Linked DNA regions of Homo sapiens: all the other regions are linked to region 3. Evidence: promoter capture Hi-C in 16 types of primary human blood cells and fetal thymus (Javierre and others, 2016). All regions are on one chromosome and are shown on one strand. The core of a region is centred on a gene start or on the middle of the fragment in contact, and the rest is flanking DNA. Distances in the headings are between cores, read along the strand shown.

The links. The method cuts DNA at HindIII sites, captures the fragments that hold promoters and counts their contacts. A CHiCAGO score of 5 or more calls a contact.
Region 1: a contact is called between a fragment that was not itself captured here and the fragment with the promoter of SIGLEC14 in region 3, in 5 of 17 cell types (megakaryocytes, erythroblasts, endothelial precursors and 2 more). The highest score is 8.8, in megakaryocytes.
Region 2: a fragment that was not itself captured here is called in contact with the fragment with the promoter of SIGLEC14 in region 3 in 1 of 17 cell types (megakaryocytes); the score reaches 5.1 in megakaryocytes.
Region 4: a fragment that was not itself captured here is called in contact with the fragment with the promoter of SIGLEC14 in region 3 in 3 of 17 cell types (erythroblasts, megakaryocytes and endothelial precursors); the score reaches 10.2 in erythroblasts.
Region 5: the fragment with the promoter of IGLON5 here is called in contact with the fragment with the promoter of SIGLEC14 in region 3 in 11 of 17 cell types (activated CD4 T cells, erythroblasts, naive CD4 T cells and 8 more); the score reaches 14.6 in activated CD4 T cells.
Region 6: a fragment that was not itself captured here is called in contact with the fragment with the promoter of SIGLEC14 in region 3 in 3 of 17 cell types (megakaryocytes, erythroblasts and neutrophils); the score reaches 6.1 in megakaryocytes.
Region 7: a contact is called between a fragment that was not itself captured here and the fragment with the promoter of SIGLEC14 in region 3, in 4 of 17 cell types (erythroblasts, megakaryocytes, M2 macrophages and 1 more). The highest score is 8.8, in erythroblasts.

Annotation. Positions count from the first base shown.
Region 1 is chr19:51,273,967-51,276,856 of GRCh38, reverse strand. The region is part of intron 1 of LINC01872 (long intergenic non-protein coding RNA 1872); the gene reads right to left. Among named protein-coding and RNA genes, the nearest start is that of LINC01872, 4.1 kb to the right of the region's middle. The HindIII fragment of the contact is 644 bases long and covers 986-1,629 here.
Region 2 is chr19:51,203,878-51,206,577 of GRCh38, reverse strand. All of the region lies in intron 2 of LOC107985327 (a long non-coding RNA gene), which reads left to right. Among named protein-coding and RNA genes, the nearest start is that of MIR8074, 1.8 kb to the left of the region's middle. The HindIII fragment of the contact is 1,887 bases long and covers 489-2,375 here.
Region 3 is chr19:51,645,375-51,648,074 of GRCh38, reverse strand. It overlaps SIGLEC14 (sialic acid binding Ig like lectin 14), which reads left to right and starts at 1,250. Exons shown (of 7, transcript NM_001098612.3): 1 at 1,250-1,352; 2 at 1,435-1,818; 3 at 2,015-2,293; 4 at 2,545-2,598. The coding sequence starts at 1,316. The HindIII fragment of the contact is 8,795 bases long and covers 1-2,700 here.
Region 4 is chr19:51,291,959-51,294,757 of GRCh38, reverse strand. No RefSeq gene overlaps it. Among named protein-coding and RNA genes, the nearest start is that of IGLON5, 18 kb to the left of the region's middle. RefSeq lists enhancers at 1-252, 931-1,609, 1,610-2,288. The HindIII fragment of the contact is 441 bases long and covers 1,173-1,613 here.
Region 5 is chr19:51,310,051-51,312,942 of GRCh38, reverse strand. It overlaps IGLON5 (IgLON family member 5), which reads right to left and starts at 1,299. Exons shown (of 8, transcript NM_001101372.3): 1 at 1,017-1,299. The coding sequence starts at 1,095. The HindIII fragment of the contact is 5,776 bases long and covers 1-2,892 here.
Region 6 is chr19:51,172,288-51,174,992 of GRCh38, reverse strand. The region is part of intron 1 of LOC101928517 (a long non-coding RNA gene); the gene reads left to right. It also overlaps the pseudogene SIGLEC17P. Among named protein-coding and RNA genes, the nearest start is that of SIGLEC7, 31 kb to the right of the region's middle. The HindIII fragment of the contact is 5,922 bases long and covers 1-2,705 here.
Region 7 is chr19:51,257,321-51,260,070 of GRCh38, reverse strand. The region is part of intron 1 of SIGLECL1 (SIGLEC family like 1); the gene reads right to left. The region is part of intron 2 of LOC107985327 (a long non-coding RNA gene); the gene reads left to right. Among named protein-coding and RNA genes, the nearest start is that of SIGLECL1, 7.6 kb to the right of the region's middle. The HindIII fragment of the contact is 1,490 bases long and covers 580-2,069 here.

The sequences.
Region 1 (2,890 bases), core at 58-2,557, 370 kb after region 3:
CCTGAGGTCAGGAGTTTGAGATCAGCCTGGTGAAACCCCGTCTCTACTAAAAATACAAATATATATATAGAGGGTGTAGTGGCAGGCGCGCCTGTAATCCCAGCTACTGGGGAGGCTGAGGCAGAAGAATCGCTTGAACCCGGGAGGCGGAGGTTGCAGTGAGCTGAGATTGCACCATTGCACTCCAGCCTGGGCAACAAGAGTGAAACTCCATCTCAAAAATAAATAAATAAATAAATAAATAAATAAATAAATAAATAAATAAAAGAAATCTTTAACTCCACTAGATTACTGAGCGCACATTTTGAGAGACTTGTCTACTTAAAAATACCAAACTTAAGAGGCTATCTGCTGGAGAGTTTTGGGAGTTCTGCTTTTCTGACACTAGCACCATCATTTCCTCCTCCTCACCTTCCTCTTCTTACTTCCTGGAAGATGAACGTGATGCTGGAGATGGTGCAGCCACCTGGCGACTATGAGACAACTGTGAGAATGAAAGCTAGAGATCTGGGGATGTCACTGACAACAACATGGGGAGCCTGGTTTTCTGATGACCCTGTGGAGCTATTGTAACAACCCCACACAGCCCACTGCCATATCTCTTCTCCATTTGATTGTCACGCTAGTTGGGAAACTGATAAAATGCCTTACCAGGGAATCTAGCCAAAAGTGAACTCCTAGGCCAGGCGTGGTGGCTCACGCCTGGAATCCCAGCATTTTGGGAGGCCGAGACGGGCAGATTGCTGGAGCCTAGGAGTTTGAGGCCAGCCTGGGCAACATGGAGAAACCCCATCTCTACTAAAAGTACAAAAATTAGCCAGGTGTGATGGCACATGCCTGTAGTCCCAGTTACTCGGGAGGCTGAGGTGGGAGAATTGCTTGAACTGGGGAGGCAGAGGTTGCAGTGAGCCAAGATCGCGCCACTGCGCTCCAGCCTGGGTGACAGAGCAAGACTCCATCCCCACCATAAAAAAAAAGTAAAGCTTCCATGCTTGCAGGTACCAGATGAATGGGGCCTGTTTGTGAAGACATAGGAGACTCCTTGGGGACTCCTAGAAAACTTTTGGAGGAAGATGACAAGGAGACTCTGCAGGGGGCTCTGCAGCTGAGGAAGGACAGTGGAATTTCCATTACTCCATTGTTCCAGTGATATTTCCACCATTGCCCCTTCACATTTCCACATCTGCATGGCATCCTTTTAAATTATAAATCAATCATGTCAGTTCCCTGTTCGTTACCATCTGTTGGCTTCACTTTACTGTCAAAATAAACTCCAAAATTTGACAGATTTTGGCAGACTGCTAGAAATACTACCTAACCCTACTTCCCCTCTGTTTCTCTTTCTCTCCTTGGTCAGCTTCTGCCCCTTCACAGTACGCAGGGAAGTAACTCTGTATCTATTCTGACCAGAATGTGAGTTCCTTGAGAAAATTAGTCATGTCCAAATATCTTTTGTGTGTCATGTTGGAATCACCTTTGTGTACCACTTCTGGGTGGCCTTTGTGTGTCATGCCCAAGGTACCTTTATGTGACATAATGGAGTCCACCTTTCAAAGTCAAGTCTGAGTCACTTTTGTGTCTCTAGTACCCAACACACAATCTGGAACACAGCTGGTGCATAATAAAGCTTTATCAAATGAAAGAAGATTTGGAACCAAGAAATTTGGGGTTTTGGCAAGGCGCGGGGACTCACACCTGTAATCCCAGCACTTTGGGAGGCCAAGGCGGGCAGCTCACTTGAGGCCAGGAGTTCGAGACCAGCCTAGCCAACATGGCAAAATCCCTTCTCTACTTAAAAAGCAAAAATTAGCCAGGCGTGGTGGCATGCGCCTGTAGTCCCAACTGCTCAGGAGGCTGAGTTATGAGAATCACTTGAACCCAGGAGGCAGAGGCTGCAGTGAGCAGAGATTGTGCCACTGCATTCCAGCCTGGGAGACAGACAGAGAGAGAGAGAGAGAAAGGGAGAGAAAGAGAGAGAGATAAATAAATAAATAAATAAATCTGGGTTCTAGCTGTGGCTCTGCAGATACCTTAAAATAAATAAATAAATAATACCGAACAATCATGGTGGCCCATGTGCTGTGCACTGGAGATTCACATACTTTATCATTCTCAATCTCACAACAGCACTGTGATGTAGTTCTCAATGCATCACTTCGCAGATAAGGAAACTGAGGCCCAGAACAGCATAGGAACTAGTCAGGTTCACAGGGCCAAGAAATGGACATCCTGAAGTCATAATGTAGGTCCCTGGACTCCGAACCCAGTGTTCTTTCCGGTATGCCAGGCTGCCTTCAGAACTGCTGTGTCATCACGGTTGAAGCCTCTTCTCCTCTCTGAGTCCCATGCTTCATGTATAAAATATGGGAATAAATCAAACTGTCCTGTCCACCTCACAAGGTTTGAGAAAGACAGTGGGAAAAGCATATAGTTTTGCACCATATGAGTTACAAATGTCTTCCCCCTCGACTTGTGTGGTAGGCAAAATTCTAAAGATGTCTCCCATTCCAAGATTCCTGTGCCCTGGTTATTCAATTAAACATTAATCTACGTGCTTCAGTGAAGGGACTTTGCTGACTGAGTGAAGGGACTTTGCTGATAGAGTGAAGGTGACTAATCTGCTGATCTTAAATTGAGGAGATCATCCTGCACTATCTGAGTGAATGTAATGTAATCACGTGAAACTTGCAAAGCAGAAAAGTCAGAGAGATTCAGGAGAAAGAAAGGGCATACATGAGCCAGAAGTGGAGGTCAGAGAGATGTGAAGCATACGAAGGATTTGACTCACCATTGTTTGCTTTGAAGATGAAGGAACGAACCCACGAGCCCATGAGGGCAGCTCCTAGAAGCTGACAATGACCCCAGCAGACAGCTAGCAAGGGAATGCAGA
Region 2 (2,700 bases), core at 183-2,682, 440 kb after region 3:
TCAGGAGTTCAAGACCAGCCTGGGCAACATGGTGAAACCCCATCTCTACTAAAAATACAAAAAACTAGCTGGGCATAGTGGTGGGTGCCTGTAATCTCAGCTACTCAGGAGATGGAGGCATGAGAATTGCTTGAATCCAGGAGGCGGAGGTTGCAGTGAGCTGAGATCGCACCGTTCTACTCTAGCCTGGGTGACAGAGTGAAACTCTGTCTCAAAAAAAAGAAAAAGTATAAAATTCAGTGGCATTTATTGCATTCACAGTGCTGTGTAATCATCACCACCATCTAGTTTCTGAACATTTTTATCACCCTGAAAGGGAAACAGTCACTTTCTATTGCCTGCTTCCCAGAGCCCCTGGAAACTACTAACGTGTACCTATTTCCATGGATTTATCTATGCTGGATATTTAATGTGAATGGAATAATTTCAGTCTTTCATCATTGAGTGTAATGTTACCTGTGGGTTTTCTCTAAATGGCCTACTAAGCTTGATGAGTTTCCATGTCTGGCTTCTTTTACCAAGGGTAATGTTTTCAAGGTAAATCCATGTTTACGAGGATAATCCTTGTTGTAGCATGCATCATTATTTCATTTCTTTTTTTGGACTGAGTGATATCCCATTGCATGGAAAGACCACATTCCATTTATCCATTTGTCAGTTACTGGGCATTTTAGTTGTTTGTACTTTTTGGCTCATGTGAGTAGTAGTGCTGCCATGAAAATTTATGTACAGATTTTCATTTGAATATCTGTTTCCAATTCCTTTGGGTATATCCCAAGGAGTGAAATTGCTAGTCAATATGATAACTGTATTAGTCTGTTCTTGCATTGCTATAAAGAAATACCTGAGACTAGGTAATTTGTGAGGAAAATAGGTTTAATTGGCTCACAGTTCTGCAGGCTGTAAGGGAAGCATGGCGACTTCTGCTTCCGGGGAGGCCTCAGGAAGTTTCCAATCATGGCATAAAGTGAAGCACGAGGGAGGAGTCTCACATGGCGGGAGCATGAGAAAGAGAGTGAGGAAGGAGGTGCTACACACTTTTAAACAACCAGATCTCATGAGAACTTACTCACTGTCTTAACAGCACCAAGGAGATGGTGCTGAACTATGAAAATTCCACCTCCACGATCCAATCACCTCCCACCAGGCCCCACCTCCAACATTGGGGATTACAATTTAACATGAGTTTGGACAGGGACATAGATAAACCATATCAATAACTCTATGTTTAACCTATTGAGGAACTTGCAGACTCTTTTCCACAGCGGCTGAATCCTTTTACATTCCCAAATACAGTGTATGAGAATTCCAATTTCTCCACATCCTCACCGACACGTGTTATGTTCCGTTTTACTAATTACAGCCATCTTAATCGTTGTAGAGTTTTGCTTTCCATTGCCATAGTGACAATAATGTTGAGCATCTTTTTGTGTGTTTGTTGGTCGTTTCTATACCTTCTTTGGATAAATGTCTATTCATGACCTTTGTCCATTTTAAAGTTGGGATTTTTGTCTCTTTGTGGTTGAGTAGCGAATCTTCTTTGGGGATACTAGGCTCATTAGATATATTATTTGCAAATATTTGGTCCCATTCTTTTTACTTTCTTGATAATATCCTTCGATGCATAAGAATTTTAAATTTTAAGTCCAATTCATCTATTTCTTCTCATGTTGCTTGTGTTTTTGGTGACATATCTAAGAAACACCTTCCAAATCTAAGGCCATGAAGATATACTTGTATGTTTTCTCCTAAGAGTTTCATAATTTTAGTTCTTACACCTCAGTCTTTGGTCCTTTTTGAGTTAATTACTATACTGTGTATTTTCTTTTTTTCTTTTTCTGGTGGGGACAGGATCTCACTTTGTCACCCAGGCTGGAGTGCAGTGGAATGAACACAGCTCACTGCAGCCTTGACCTCCTGGGCCCAAGTGATCCTCCCACCTCAGCCTCTTGAGTAGCTGAGACTACTGGTGCATGCCACCATGCCTGGCTAATTTTTTGTGATTTTTTTAGAGGTAGGGTTTTGCTGTGTTGCCCATCCTGGTCACAAATTCCTGAGCTCAAGTGATCCACCCGCCGCAGCCTCCCAAAGTGTTGGGATTACAGGTATGAGCCACTGCGCTCGGCCTATACTGCATACTTTATGTGGAAGGAGTCCAACTTCATTTTTATTCACGTGGCTCTCCAGTTGCCCCAGAACCATTTGTTAAAGACATTATCGTTTTTCATTAAATGGTCTTGGTATCCTTACTGAATTATCAGTGGACCATAAATTTATCACTTTATATCTGGCTCTCAATTCTATTCCATTGATCAGTATCGGTACCACCTAGTTTTTTATTTTATTTTATGGCAGCGAAAGTTTATTTAAAAGCTTTAGAAGAGTAAGGAAAGCAAGGAAAGGAAAGAAAGGAAGGAAGGAAAGTACACTTGGAAGAGGGCCAAGCAGGCGGCTTGAGAAACCAAGTGCCTACCCAGTTTAATTCCTGTGACTTTGTGGTAAGTTGTAAAATCAGGAAATGTGAGTCCTACAATGTTTTCACTTTCAAAATCATTTTGGCTATTTGAAGTCTCTTGTGATTCCATATGAATTTTAAGGATAGTTTTTTTTTCATGTCAGTAAAAACATCCATTAGGGTTTTGATAGGGATTGCACTGAATCTTGATTTGAGGAATATTACCATCTTAATATTAATTCTAC
Region 3 (2,700 bases), core at 1-2,500:
TGGAGTGCAGTGGTGCGATCTCGGCTCACTGCAAGCTCCACCTCCCGGGTTACGCCGTCCTCCTGCCTCAGCCCCCCCAGTAGCTGGGACTACAGGCGCCCGCCACCACGCCCGGCTAATTTTTTGTATTTTTAGTAGAGACGGGGTTTCACCATGTTAGCCAGGACGGTCTTGATCTCCTGACCTCGTGATCCACCCGCCTCGGTCTCCCAAAGTGCTGGGATTACAGGCGTGAGCCACTGCGCCCGGCCTTCTTTTTTTACTGTTCTTCGTGGAGCAGGGGTATGCATAAGCAGTGTGCCCAGAGGAGCCCCCACTAGGATTTTTGACTTACCTTCTCATCCTAAGAGTTTATCCTTTGCTGTATCTCCAGCTCCTAAAACAGGGGGCCTGGTGCACCATAGGCGCCCATGAAGCATCAGTTGAATGAGTGAATTCTCGGGGCCAGACACTGTCCTAAGCACTTTACACATGAGACCTCACTGAATCCCCACACAGCAATTCTATTATTGTCTGCATTTTTCAGCTGAGCAAACTGAGGCACAGAGAGGGTAGGTAACTTTTGTAAAGTTCAACAGCCGGTAGGTGAGGGGTCTGGGTTCACACTTGGTATTCCATATCCTCAACGTTCACATTTCAAATGCCCGGCTCTCAAGCCTCATCTGGCTGTCAACATCAGGGATGGGGTCTGACGCTGCCTGGGACAAGGACAAGGATGAGATGAGGTTCCCAAATCCAACTGGTGGTGGGGACCACATCTCTCTTGACTGCTAAGGACCCGGTCATGTCCACCTGATGTGTTTGTCCCTGACAACTTGCCTTCCCTCTGGAAAGAGGAAAGTCTTCCCCACCTGAAACCCCCAGCGTGTGCTTCCCTCACCACAGCTCCTATCATGTCATAAAGGATTTATTCTCCCATCTCGCTGAGGGTCCCGAGGCCCTGACTCCCAGGGAGCTGGCCAAGTGGTGTTCTCCTTCCTATGTAGACAAAGGTGCATAAGGAAAGTGCTGCAGCTATGGGACCTGGTGACCTCAGGAGTCTAGACTTACAAGTCTGGACAAGCCCCTCTGGGGGCCTCAGTATCTTCACCATCGGCGTCCAGTGGGGGTGGGAGCAGAATGGCTTCCCAGCCCCAGCCTCACCCCAACAGCACGTGATGCCCAAGTTCCCCTTCTGTGCGCGTCCACAGCTCTCACTCACCCTCCGGCTTCCTGTCGGGGCTTTCTCAGCCCCACCCCACGTTTGGACATTTGGAGCATTTCCTTCCCTGACAGCCGGACCTGGGACTGGGCTGGGGCCCTGGCGGATGGAGACATGCTGCCCCTGCTGCTGCTGCCCCTGCTGTGGGGGGGTGAGTGAGCTGAGGGAGGAGGGACAGGCACAGGGGTGAGAAGGGGGGCTGGAGCTGCAGCTGAGCTTCTGTGTCCCCCCAGGGTCCCTGCAGGAGAAGCCAGTGTACGAGCTGCAAGTGCAGAAGTCGGTGACGGTGCAGGAGGGCCTGTGCGTCCTTGTGCCCTGCTCCTTCTCTTACCCCTGGAGATCCTGGTATTCCTCTCCCCCACTCTACGTCTACTGGTTCCGGGACGGGGAGATCCCATACTACGCTGAGGTTGTGGCCACAAACAACCCAGACAGAAGAGTGAAGCCAGAGACCCAGGGCCGATTCCGCCTCCTTGGGGATGTCCAGAAGAAGAACTGCTCCCTGAGCATCGGAGATGCCAGAATGGAGGACACGGGAAGCTATTTCTTCCGCGTGGAGAGAGGAAGGGATGTAAAATATAGCTACCAACAGAATAAGCTGAACTTGGAGGTGACAGGTATGGCAGGAACCCTAGGAGAGGACCCTGGGACGTGGAGACCCCCGTATGAGAACAGGGACAGGAGTTGGGCAGGGGCGGCTGGAGGAGGTGTAGGACTTGGGGCAGGTCGGGGCCTGAGGCCTGGCCACTCTCGGGGTCACACCTTACGTCCTCAAGCCCCTGGGGCCCAGGTATCTCCCTGTCTCCTCCTCAGCCCTGATAGAGAAACCCGACATCCACTTTCTGGAGCCTCTGGAGTCCGGCCGCCCCACAAGGCTGAGCTGCAGCCTTCCAGGATCCTGTGAAGCGGGACCACCTCTCACATTCTCCTGGACGGGGAATGCCCTCAGCCCCCTGGACCCCGAGACCACCCGCTCCTCGGAGCTCACCCTCACCCCCAGGCCCGAGGACCATGGCACCAACCTCACCTGTCAGGTGAAACGCCAAGGAGCTCAGGTGACCACGGAGAGAACTGTCCAGCTCAATGTCTCCTGTGAGTGGTGCTGGGGACACAGCTGAGTCCCCAAGGGCAGTGGGAGTGAGGGGGGTGTGTGTGTGTGTGTGTGTGTGTGTGTAGAAGAGAGAGAGAGAAAGAGAATGATAACCAGGGAAAACTCGTGTGTGGGCAGGAAGGACAGCGGTCCCCACCTGGTGGGTTTCTGTGGCCCCTCCTTGGGTCCCTCCCGGGACCACGCCCATCCCTCTTGTCACCTCTGAAGCTGGTGCTGTATCTTTCTATCCCAGATGCTCCACAGAACCTCGCCATCAGCATCTTCTTCAGAAATGGCACAGGCACAGGTAGGAAAGACCCTCTTCCCTCTGGGGCTGTGATGGGAGCCTTCTATTAGCTCAGGGTTCAGCATTGGGAGAGGAGACCCTCCCTCACCCCTCAGCCCCTGG
Region 4 (2,799 bases), core at 144-2,643, 350 kb after region 3:
AGGCGTGTCCCCTACATTGGCTAACATGAGGGCTGGCGCTGGGGAGGCCCCGGGGCATGTTTCCCCAGGAAATGGGTGAGAGCCGGGCGACGGCCTCTGGGTCTGGAGTCTGGGATGGAGTCGCACCTCTGCCTGGGCCAGGTTTCCACGTCCTGGGCCGCATGCCGTGATCCATCTCGGAGTCTACACTCTTCTTTCTCTCCAGAGCCCTAGACTTTGGGAGAACCACAGTCGGTTGCTCCGCTGCCTTAGACAAGCCCAATCCCCTCTCTAAGTACCCAACACGGGGGAATCCAAGCAGCCTCCTTAAGCCTCTGTTATGAGCGGAAGTGTGGATCCACCCCACCCCCCATCATTCATATGTTGACATCCTAACCCCCAGTGACTCAGAATGTGACTGTATTGGAGACAAGGTCTTAACATCGGTGATTAAGGTTAAGTGATGTCACATGATGGGCCTGAATTCAATGACTGGTGTCCTTACAAGGGAAGGAAATTAGGACCCAGGCACACGCAGAGGGATGACCCTGTGAGGACACAGGGAGAAGACAGCATCTACCGGCCAAGGTGAGAGGCCTCAGAAGGAAGCTCTGCTGCTGGCACCTTGACCTGGGATTTCCAGCCTCCAGAGGGGGAGAAAATCAGTATCTGCCGTTCAAGCCGCCCAGTCTGTGGGGCTTTGTTTTGGCAAATGTAGCATCTGCTGTGTGGGGCGAGGGGGCCTGGGTCTCTCCGTCCTGAACAAGTGCCTCCCCGGGGTTCTGCCAGGTGATGGGGTGGGGGCCCTGGCCTGCGGCCCTGTTGCTTGACAGTCTGCCTGTGACTGTCCCAGGGACTTACCTCCAGCCCGGTCTGGTGGGGTGTCAGCTTCAGGCATTTTGGGTACTTCTGTTTCCTCCAGCAGCTCTGGTTTCTTAAGGGGCAAGCCTTCTTTGGCCTTGGGACTCTGATGCTCCTCCCACCAGGTAAGCATCTTCATTCTAAGGCAGGAAGCCCCGTGGTGAATGCTGTGCTCAGTCCCTGCCCCGTCCAGTTCCCAGAAGGAGCCCTGGGCTGGGCCCAGAACACCAGCTTCCTCCGCTTCCTGGTTCTGAGACCAGCACAGCCCCACCCCACGCCGTCAAATGGGGATAAGAACCTCTATTGTCTTGGCGTGGACCCTCTCCCAAGCTTCTTTCTGGGCCTCCTGGAATTCACTCTGTCCCCCAGAGCTGCCCGGCTCCTCTCCTGCTCACAGCCCTCCCATGGCTTCCCAGTCCCCCCAGGACACAGCCCAGCCCTTCAGCCTGGTGGCCCTTCGTGTCTGGTCCATTCCTGCTTCTCTTGCTGCTCTGCGATGTCTCCATATATACTTTTCAGTTTTGGACAGGTCTTTTTTTTTGCACCTTTCTTCCTCCTTCGAATATTGCTGGCTCATGTCTGCATGTCCATGCCCGGCACATCGCCTTGCTCTTTCTGACAGCTGTGTTGTTCTGTTGTATGGCTGTCCCATGGATTATATAACTGTTCCCTTTCCTTTCTTGCTCTGGCAGCTGCAGGGGCCACCTGCTGGTCCCTGGCTGGCGGCTGTGTCCTTCTGTCCCGTGTCCCCTGCAGAGCAGCCTGAGCAAGCTTTAAAGACCCGACCTGTTCCTCCCCAAATGGAGATCCTTCCATTGTTTCTTTCTGCGTTCAGACAATAAGATTCAAACGTCCATTTCCTGTCTGAAAACACTTGCTCTACAAAAACATCCGAAAATACTGATGGGGCTGAGGTCGTAAGGACGTTGGGGACTGAAGATCAGAGGCCACGCATCAACTGAGGGTTGGCTGCACACTGCTGGGTTGTGGGGAAGCGGGGGCTTGCTGTTATGATTACCAAGGGACTTGCTTTAAATGGTCCAGTGACAGCAGACAACAAGGCCTTGGGTCCATACTAGGTAGCAACCTGGATATGACACCCCCACATCAAGGGGGGCGCCAGAAAAAAAATCTAGTCATTGATCAAGGGAATGACAAGGAAGCATGTCTATTTTGGCCTGGGCTTTCGGTGGCAAAAAAAAACCTTTTTGTATTTATCTTAGAAGCTGAGGCCTCCATTTATAGAGATTTGCATCAGAGAGCGACAAAGTGAGCAATGAACACAAATAGCCCCCGGTGTGTTTCGCTGTTGGGCAACTCACACAAAACTCATTTCAGGGGGACTTGCCCACCACATTGTCCGCATATGCTTCTTGCAGGTAAAGTCCCCACTGAGAGCAGCTCACCTTCCAGGATGACCAAGCATGAGAGGCAATAGCCCTCCACGAGGGAAGATGAAACCCAAACTTCTCACCAGAGCCCTTGAGGCTCTGCCAGCAGGTTAGCCTCTCCCAAGCTCTCCTTAAGCTCTGAGCTCATCTGGCCCTGCTGGGCTCTTGAACTCGATAAACCTTTGCAATCTCAGAGCCTAGAACTGCGGCTCCCTCAGTCTGGGCAGCTCCCCACACTCCTTTAGGCCTCAGAGCAAGTACCTGAAGGCTGCTCCCCGCCCCGTCCCCTTGCCACACTCTCTCCCAGCTCCCCGTTTTCCTCCAGGCACTTCCCAACATTTGTCCCTACACATCTGCATATGTCCTCGTTCAGTGTCCACCTCCCTGAGGCCTGGTTTGCTCTACGATATTGTCAGAGGTATTTGAACCAGAGTAACTCCATCTTGAACAGGGGCTGGGTAAAATAAGGCTGAGACCTACTGGGCTGCATTCCTGGACAGTGAAGGCATTCTAAGTCACAGGATGAGATAGGAGGTCGGCACAAAATACAGGTCATAAAGACCTTGCT
Region 5 (2,892 bases), core at 50-2,549, 340 kb after region 3:
TCCTGAGCGCCCACCCTCCAGCCTCCTGCCTCCTTGCACTCTCCTCCCTTTTCTTAGGGGGAAATCTAGGAATCTCCTTGACCACCCCCTGCCTGCCAGGCCCTACTGGGGAGACTCAAGGTCCAGCTATCTAACCTCAGTGCAGAAACCTGCCCCTGGCCCTCTCCCCAACTGGGAGGGCCGGGCCGGGCCGGGGTTAACCCTTCAACCTGCTTTAACCCTTCCCTTCCGTCTTTCCTTCATCCTCCCATGCCCATCGCTCTTCCACTGTCCAGCCCCACGAACCTAGACATTCAATCAGAGCTTGGGAATCCAAGACCCCAGCCCAGCACCCCAACTTCCTGTATCTCCAGCTCCCTTCTCCCCCACATAACTGCAACCTCCCCAAGTACCAACACTTTCTCTCAACCTAGATGACCCTGCTGGGGGATTTCAGACCCTTCCCCTCTTTTCCTGACCCTGGGACTAGGTCTGTGGACACCCTTGTCCCCTCCTCTTACTGACCCTGGGAAGGCATCCATCCCCTGACCTCTGTCCCGAGATGACTACCCCAGCCCCCGGCAAGGACCTCTTCAGGGACCCTCTCCACGTACAGATGAAGACCCCTAACAGGGCATTATCCCCTGCCCCCCACCCCAACTCAGTTCGGAGATCCGACCCGGGGACCCCGAGTCCAGTGTCTGCCCCCTCCTCAACAGGAGCCGCAGACTCCTGCCCCCAGGCAGGGCTAGGTGTCTGCGACCCTCTTGCCTGCTCGGGGAAGCAGACCTCCGCCCCTAGACCCGGCTCCGGCCCGAGGACGCCGACCCCTGCCCCGGGGCGCGGACCCCCACGTCCGAGGTCCCCCTGCCCAGCCAGGGAATGCAGACCCCACCCCCGGGCCCAGACCCCGGCGTCCCGGGGCCTCCCCGCGCCGGCCCAGGGATGCAGCCCTCGACCCCCACCCCTGATCCCCCGATTACCCACCCAAGACCCTGGCGTCCCGGCCGAGCCCCCCGCCCCCGGCGCTGCGGTACCTCGGCTGATGACGGCCAAGCCGGCCAGGGCGGCGGCGGCGAGAAGCCGGAGCCGGGCCCCGGGCGCAGGGGGGGGCATCGCGGCAGAGGCGGCGCGGAGGGGGAGGGGAAAGGGGGGGCCGGTCCGGGGCGCGCGAGGCCTGGGGGGAGAGGGGGGAGGGGGAGGGGGACCCCGCCTGCGCTGCACCGGCCCGGGGGGCGGCGGGGGCGGGGGGAGGGGGCTGGGGGGGCGCGACGAGGCGGCTGGAGCTGCTGCAGACCCGGGGAGGGGGGCGGCGCTGACGGGCAGGGAGACCGGCCAATCAGGAGAGGTGGGGGGCCGGGGAGGCGGGGTCAAGGGGGGGTTGCTTGTTGGAGGGAGAGGCCTTTGTTACTGCGGCCCGGCCCCTACCCCTCCCGCCCCAGGCGTCCCCACGTCTTTCCACCACATCCGCAGAACACGGAGTCTGGGATACTTCCTAAAACCCAGCTCCCTCCTCCTTCAAGTCCCAATCTCATCCTCCCATGGACCTAGGAGACTAGCCCCAGTCCCTCCTCTCTCAGACCCAGGAGCCCAGGTCCCCAGCCCCTCCTCCCTCAGACCCTGGAGTCCAGGCCCCCAGCCCCTCCTCCCTCAGACCCAGGAGTCCAGGCCCCCAGCCCCTCCTCCCTCAGACCCAGGAGTCCAGGCCCCCAGCCCCTCCTCCCTCAGCCCAGGAGTCCAGGCCCCCAGCCCCTCCTCCCTCAGACCCAGGAGTCCAGGCCCAGCCCCTCCTCTCTCAGACCCTGGAGCCCAGGCCCCCAGCCCCTCCTCCCTCAGACCCAGGAGTCCAGGCCCCCAGCCCCTCCTCCCTCAGACCCTGGAGCCCAGGCCCCCAGCCCCTCCTCCCTCAGACCCAGGAGTCCAGGCCCCCAGCCCCTCCTCCCTCAGACCCAGGAGTCCAGGCCCCCAGCCCCTCCTCCCTCAGACCCTGGAGCCCAGGCCCCCAGCCCCTCCTCCCTCAGACCCAGGAGTCCAGGCCCCCAGCCCCTCCTCCCTCAGACCCAGGAGTCCAGGCCCCCAGCCCCTCCTCCCTCAGACCCTGGAGCCCAGGCCCCCAGCCCCTCGTCCCTCAGACCCAGGAGTCCAGGCCCCCAGCCCCTCCTCCCTCAGACCCAGGAGTCCAGGCCCCCAGCTCCTCCTCCCTCAGACCCTGGAGTCCAGGCCCCCAGCCCCTCCTCCCTCAGAGCCAGGAGTCCAGGTCCCCAGCCCCTCCTCCCTCAGGCCCAGGAGTCCAGGTCCCCAGTTCCTCCTCCCTCAGACCTAGGAGTCCAGGCCCCCAGCCCCTCCTCCCTCAGACCCAGGAGTCCAGGTCCCCAGTCCCTCCTCCCTCAGACCCTGGAGTCCAGGCCCCCAGCCCCTCCTCCCTCAGACCCTGGAGTCCAGGCCCCCAGCCCCTCCTCCCTCAGACCCAGGAGTCCAGGCCCCCAGCCCCTCCTCCCTCAGACCCAGGAGTCCAGGCCCCCAGCCCCCTCCTCCCTCAGACCCAGGAGGCCAGGCCCCCAGGCCCCTCTTCCTGTGGGCCACAGTTCAGCTTTTCCATCTATTTTCATGGATAACGAAAACACTGACTTTTGGAGTGAAATTTGCTTTTTTCCTCCACCCCAACCCTCATCCCCAGTATAATAAGGCAATGGGAAGGGATTGGGGGACTTATCTTGGGGGAGCAGGTGGGGAGGAAACCATAATCCAGGGTTTAGGTGCAAAACATCCTGGCTCCCTGTTCTTTCACTGACTTGGCTGTGTGACCTTGGACAAGCCATTTCTCTTCCCAGAACCTCAGCGTCTTCCCCTGCAAGGTGGAAAATTCCCTATTGCCCAAGGTTATTGAGAAGAATGAGAGATCTTGGAGCAGCT
Region 6 (2,705 bases), core at 2-2,501, 470 kb after region 3:
TCTCCATGATATTATTGAGGTCATGGATGTCTTCATGGATATCCATGACATCTATGATATCTGTGGACTCACCTGTGATATCTGTGGCACCTATCAAGCAGAGGCCACGAGCTATCTTTGCTCTTACCCTACGTGCACTCCGTCACTCCATTCGCAAATACTATTGGCTTCATCTTCAAGATGTGTCCAGAACCCAACTTCTCCACATGAGATTCATCATCCTTACCCAGGACTATGTCTGCGTCATCTCTTCACTGGATTCTCTGTATCCACTAATCTGGTCTCCTCTCATCTATACTTTCTCACACTGCAGCCTGAGTGACCCCACTAAAGTAAGTGTCATTTCATCTCACTCTTTTGCTCAAATGCATAAATAAGTATAATGGACTCAGGACACTGCAATATTTGTAGCCTCCATCTCTCTCCAACTTCATTTCCTACATTTCCTACCCACCTGTGCTCAGTTCTCATATCCCACATGACTCTGCTTTTTCTAAGCCTCTTTGCAGCTCACCATTCTCACCTCCTGTGCTGGGTAACCATTGATATGCTCTCTCTCATGGTGAGTTACTTTTGTCCACATGAGAATTTCCTAGAAATGTACTCATTTGTGTCTGTATTCTTTCATCTCAGCAGTAATATTTTTGGAAACTGAACCAAGTTGTTGAATGTGCATTGTAACATCTCCAATCTGGACCCCTCTCTTGAGCTCCTGACAGTTACATCCGGCTGTCTCCCTCCTAGTCCCATTCTGATGTCAGGTGGATTCTCAGAATTAATCATTCTCTAGGAAAGTCCTTCCCTCTTCAGTCCTCTATGGACAAAGCTCCTTCCTTCCAGGTGCCCAGGGGAACATTCCGGCCTCGTCCTTTGTATTGCCTTCCCCTCACTGAACACATAGTTAGCCTGTGATCCTTATTAGCTTGATCTTCCACACACATCCAAAAACATGTCCTCACCCCACCCTGCCTCGCTGGCTCAGCCCTCATCCCTCCTCCTGGAGGACCCAGCAGTGCCTTCCCCGTCTTCCTGTGGCTGCCATGACCCACTTGGGCCTGCTCTGACTCAGGCATTTGAGGTCAGAGTGAGAGTCCAGTTGTGTCTCTGCCCTTCCCAAAGGCTCCAGGCTCCTGTGCGCGCTGCAGCACCCCACGCAGTCTGCAGCTTCCTTCCTGCTGCTCCCTCCTTACCCTTCCTCTGCTCTAAGACATGGGGCTCTGGTTGAGCCCACAACCCCCAGGCCTGCTGCTGCCTCTGAGCAGTGCACTTGCTCTTCCCCTTATCCTTTTCCTGGGATGCTTTTCTCTTATTCAGACTCAGAGCCCGCCTCTTCAGCACCTTCACGTCTTTGCCTAAATGTCACCTCTTTCCACTATCAGATATAGAAACTGTTTCCCAGTATAGTCTGTGCTTATTTCCCTGTGTTATTTTTCTCTAAACAAATATCTCTATCCAACATGGGAAAAAATATTTTACTTATTTCTTTTTATTTGTATCCTTCTGCTCTTCAGAACAACAGCTTGATGACAGAGCTCTTTGAGTCTATATCTATTGATGAACTTCTTGCACATACGGAAATGCTGGCACATAGTCATTATATGTATTCAGTATGGTTACTGAATATGTCTACAAATTAATGAACAAATGCCACATCTCCGCTTAATATCATACAAGGATTACATAAAAATACACACACCTGGATGACATTTAAGACAACCTGAAGGATGATAAGGACCTGGATTGGCAGGAATGGGGAGGAAGGCCATTTCAGGAGAAGTAACTACACATGCAAAGTCTCAGAATCACAGAGGGCTTGGCCTGGTGGGTGTAGGGAGACTTCGGGTGATGCAAGGAGAAGGGGGATCAGGAGCAGAGTCCAGCAGAAGACAGATCGTGAAAGGCCTTCAGTCCAGGCAGTGGCATTTGCACTTCATTCTCCAGCAATGAAGAGGAAACATGGCCATTCAGACTGTGGAGGAACTGGATGAGGAGACATCTGGAAGTACAGTCTGGAGGCCTGTGTTGGGGAGAGATGGAGGCAGGAGGTGAAAAGGGTTCAGTGATCAGGGAAGAGGTGAGGCCGCAAGAATGACCAGGGTCAGGATGGAGAAAAGGGCATCAAGATGAGCCCTGCTTAGGAGAAGGAGGGACAAGAGCTAGTAATTTATGGGATCTAGAGAAGGGAGGGGGGTCAAGATGGAGACCCACACCCAGGTTCTGACTTTAGAGATGAGGCCTCTTTGTCATCTGCAGGATGAAGAACCCACATCCCAGGAAAAGTAGGTTTGAGGAGGAAGACAGTTGGCTTAACTTTGGCCATGATGGGCAGAGCAATCCTGGAGGCCATTGTGGAGGAGTTATCCAGCAGGATGTTGAAGAGTGAGAGGCCCACATCACTCACCTGAGAGATTAACCCATGACAGCATATACATTCTCCTCAACCTCCACTGCCCTCACCGCCTTCTTCTTGTGGAAACTGACATTGAGTGAAGAGACAAGGACCTGTAAGTGTGGCCACATGAAGGGAGCAAAGGGCAGCCAACTCAACTTCCTGTGCCCTGCTAGAGGCTGGAGGGATCACAGGGAGGAAGAGCAGGTCTAGACTTCCTTGATGACAACAGGAAGCTCCCCATCCTGGCATTTGGCCCTCAGTTGGGACAGACACAAACTGACCACAAATGGCCCATGTGTAATTCTCACCACCA
Region 7 (2,750 bases), core at 75-2,574, 390 kb after region 3:
CTGCCTGACCATATGGCCAGGCCATTGGCCACTGCCCATGAATTGGTAAAAACCCAAATGTGGAGGCAGTTCAGCCCACTGAAGTGACTTGTTTTTGCCTTCCTCAGTATGAGTGCCAGTCTTCCAAACAGGATGTTATTAATTCACTTTGGAATTGCCATCCATAAATCAAACCGCTCTTAGTTGGTCAATCAAGAGCTATTAATAGACATCATTCAAGTAATAATAGGATCTCGCAGCTCTTCAGTAGGGAAAAAGCCACCTGTTCATAAATATAACGAGGACCTCCTTGCATTTCCCTGGTAGCATGTTCCTGTATAAACAATTTCCATTTTATTACGAGACTCTTTTGGGCATGGCCTTCCTTACTACAGTGTTTTTCCAACATGACAAACACATCATGAGGATTTCAGGTGTCAGGATTATTATATCCTTCAATGATGGGGCAGACTCAAAGCCCAATAGGCAGCTAGTTGTCTCTCCATTGGAAATTTTCTGGCCCCAAATCCCAGCATTCACCACTGGGTGGTGCTCACTGGCCTTAGCTCCAGTCTGCCTAAATAAAGCAAACGTTAAGCTTCTAACATGTTTTGTCCACCAGATATCCTGTACTGTTTCAAATTAACAATTAGTGTGGGCTTGGGCAATCTTATTGGTTCCTATTTAGCATATTCAATCAATATTGGTTGAAGGGAAGATTTACATGCCTTCTGTTTCATAATAGTACGTAGGGGAACTCTTCCATAGTTGGACACAATATCTTTCCTCATAATACATTTAGGTAAATACATTCACATAACATATTTACATAGTCTGTCCAAACATTCCAATTTTCATCCAAAGTTTCGCCTGAATCTCATCCACTTTGTAATCCTATGTCTTCGCAATCTAACCATAGATGCTATTAGAATTTCACCAACCTTTTGGAATGCAGGTATAAGACTCCCACATGAGTCCCAGAAATATCTCTTATCCATCCCCTGACTATTTTACTACTAATATGCATATGACTTTGGGTCTTCAGTTAGGGGTCAGGCCAAGCAACCCAGGCCCTTTTGTCATTTATCTTGATTAGATCACATGTTCGTCCCCTCAGGAGATCTGAGGTCAGATTTCCCATTGTCATGTTTGCCTTCTGGCTTCTAAAATTCCTCCAAACTAGGGTAAATATAGCAGACTTGATGGGGGACCTTCAACACTGGAGGGCAAGTCTAGGTTCTCACTGCTCCACCTAATTTCTAAGAGTGCTCCACTGAGACCTTTGTTTAGACTCCCTCAATGTCCACTTAACTCATCTCATTTCTTAATAACTGTTTATAAAGATTTCCACCCTCTTGGAAATGTTCGTCTTTTCTCACTCTCTGGTGAACCACTCTAATTTTCTTTGCCATCTGTCATTTCAGCCTAACTTTTCCCTTTAGCCACAGCCCTGAGGCTAGCAGCTGTAGCTCAGGCTGGCCAGAGCCCAAGATTGGGCCAGCATCAGGATCCGCCTCAGCCACTTTCATTTTAACGATTACAGATAAAAATAGCCAAGGGACTGCCTATTTAGTTTGTTTCCTTATGCATCCAGTGGGTCAGCTCCTTGGGGGTTGGATCCATTGTATTGAAAAAGCAATGGTAACTTTTACCTCCTGTAACTGTTTGCAGAACAGCTGCATTTCTATACGCACAGGTGACCGCAGGACAGCCCAGGAATCAAAGGCTTATCATCTTGACTTCACATCCTTCCTCTTTTCAAACCATATGTTTCAGTGAGTCAGGGCTGTTCTAGTGAATCCCATTTCTGATACAACTGAAAAGTTAGGGAATGGTCCACAAGATCCCCTCATTTCTGACACCAACTGAAGATATCAAGGATCCCTGATTACCCTCATTTCTCAAATCATTTGCAAGGTTTTGGAACCCCAAAACTACCCTTAGGTTTGGTAATTCACTAGAAGTACTCACAGAATTCACTGAAAGCTGTTATACTCGTGATTACTGTTTACTACAACTAAAGGATAGAGATTAAAATCAGCCAAGGGAAGACATACAGGGCAGAGGCCAGAAGTTCCCCACACAAAGCTTCTAGTTATCCTCTCCCTGTGGAGTCATGGACAGCATAACTTAGCTTTCCTGGTGATAATGTGTGACAATATGCATAGTACTGTCAACTAAAGAAGCTCACCCAAGCCTTGTGTCCAGTGTTTTTATTGGGCCTCCATCGTGTAACATGGTGACTTCCCTCATGGTGGATCTTAGCATCCAGCTCCTCCTGAAGTTGAGCTGATACCATTTGATCCAAAGCCCCTATTCTAAATCACATTGTTAGACTATCTGGTATTGCTTCCACTCTAAATCACATTGTTAACATTATCTGGTGTGGCCAGCCCTCATCCTAAATCACATTTCTAGAATATTCAGTGTGATGCAAGGTCCCTGGGCAAACAAAGACACCCCTATGAGGTGTGACATTCTAAGAGCTAGGGAGTGTCTTCCAGAAGCCAAGGGCAAAGGCCAGACTTCTCTTCAGGCAAGGTTAAGTTCCTTAGTACACAGAATAAAATGTCAAATTCAGAATAGCAGCGATCTCTATGTTTGAGAGTGGGAGATGTGTTTGGGGAAGGGAGTATACCAGGGGTAGTGTTTTCTTTCTTTTCTTTTCTTTTTTTTTTTTTTGAGACAGTTTCTTGCTCTGTCACCCAGACTGGATGGAGTGCAACGGAGCATTCACAGTTCACTGCAGGCTTGACCTCCCAGGCTCAAGC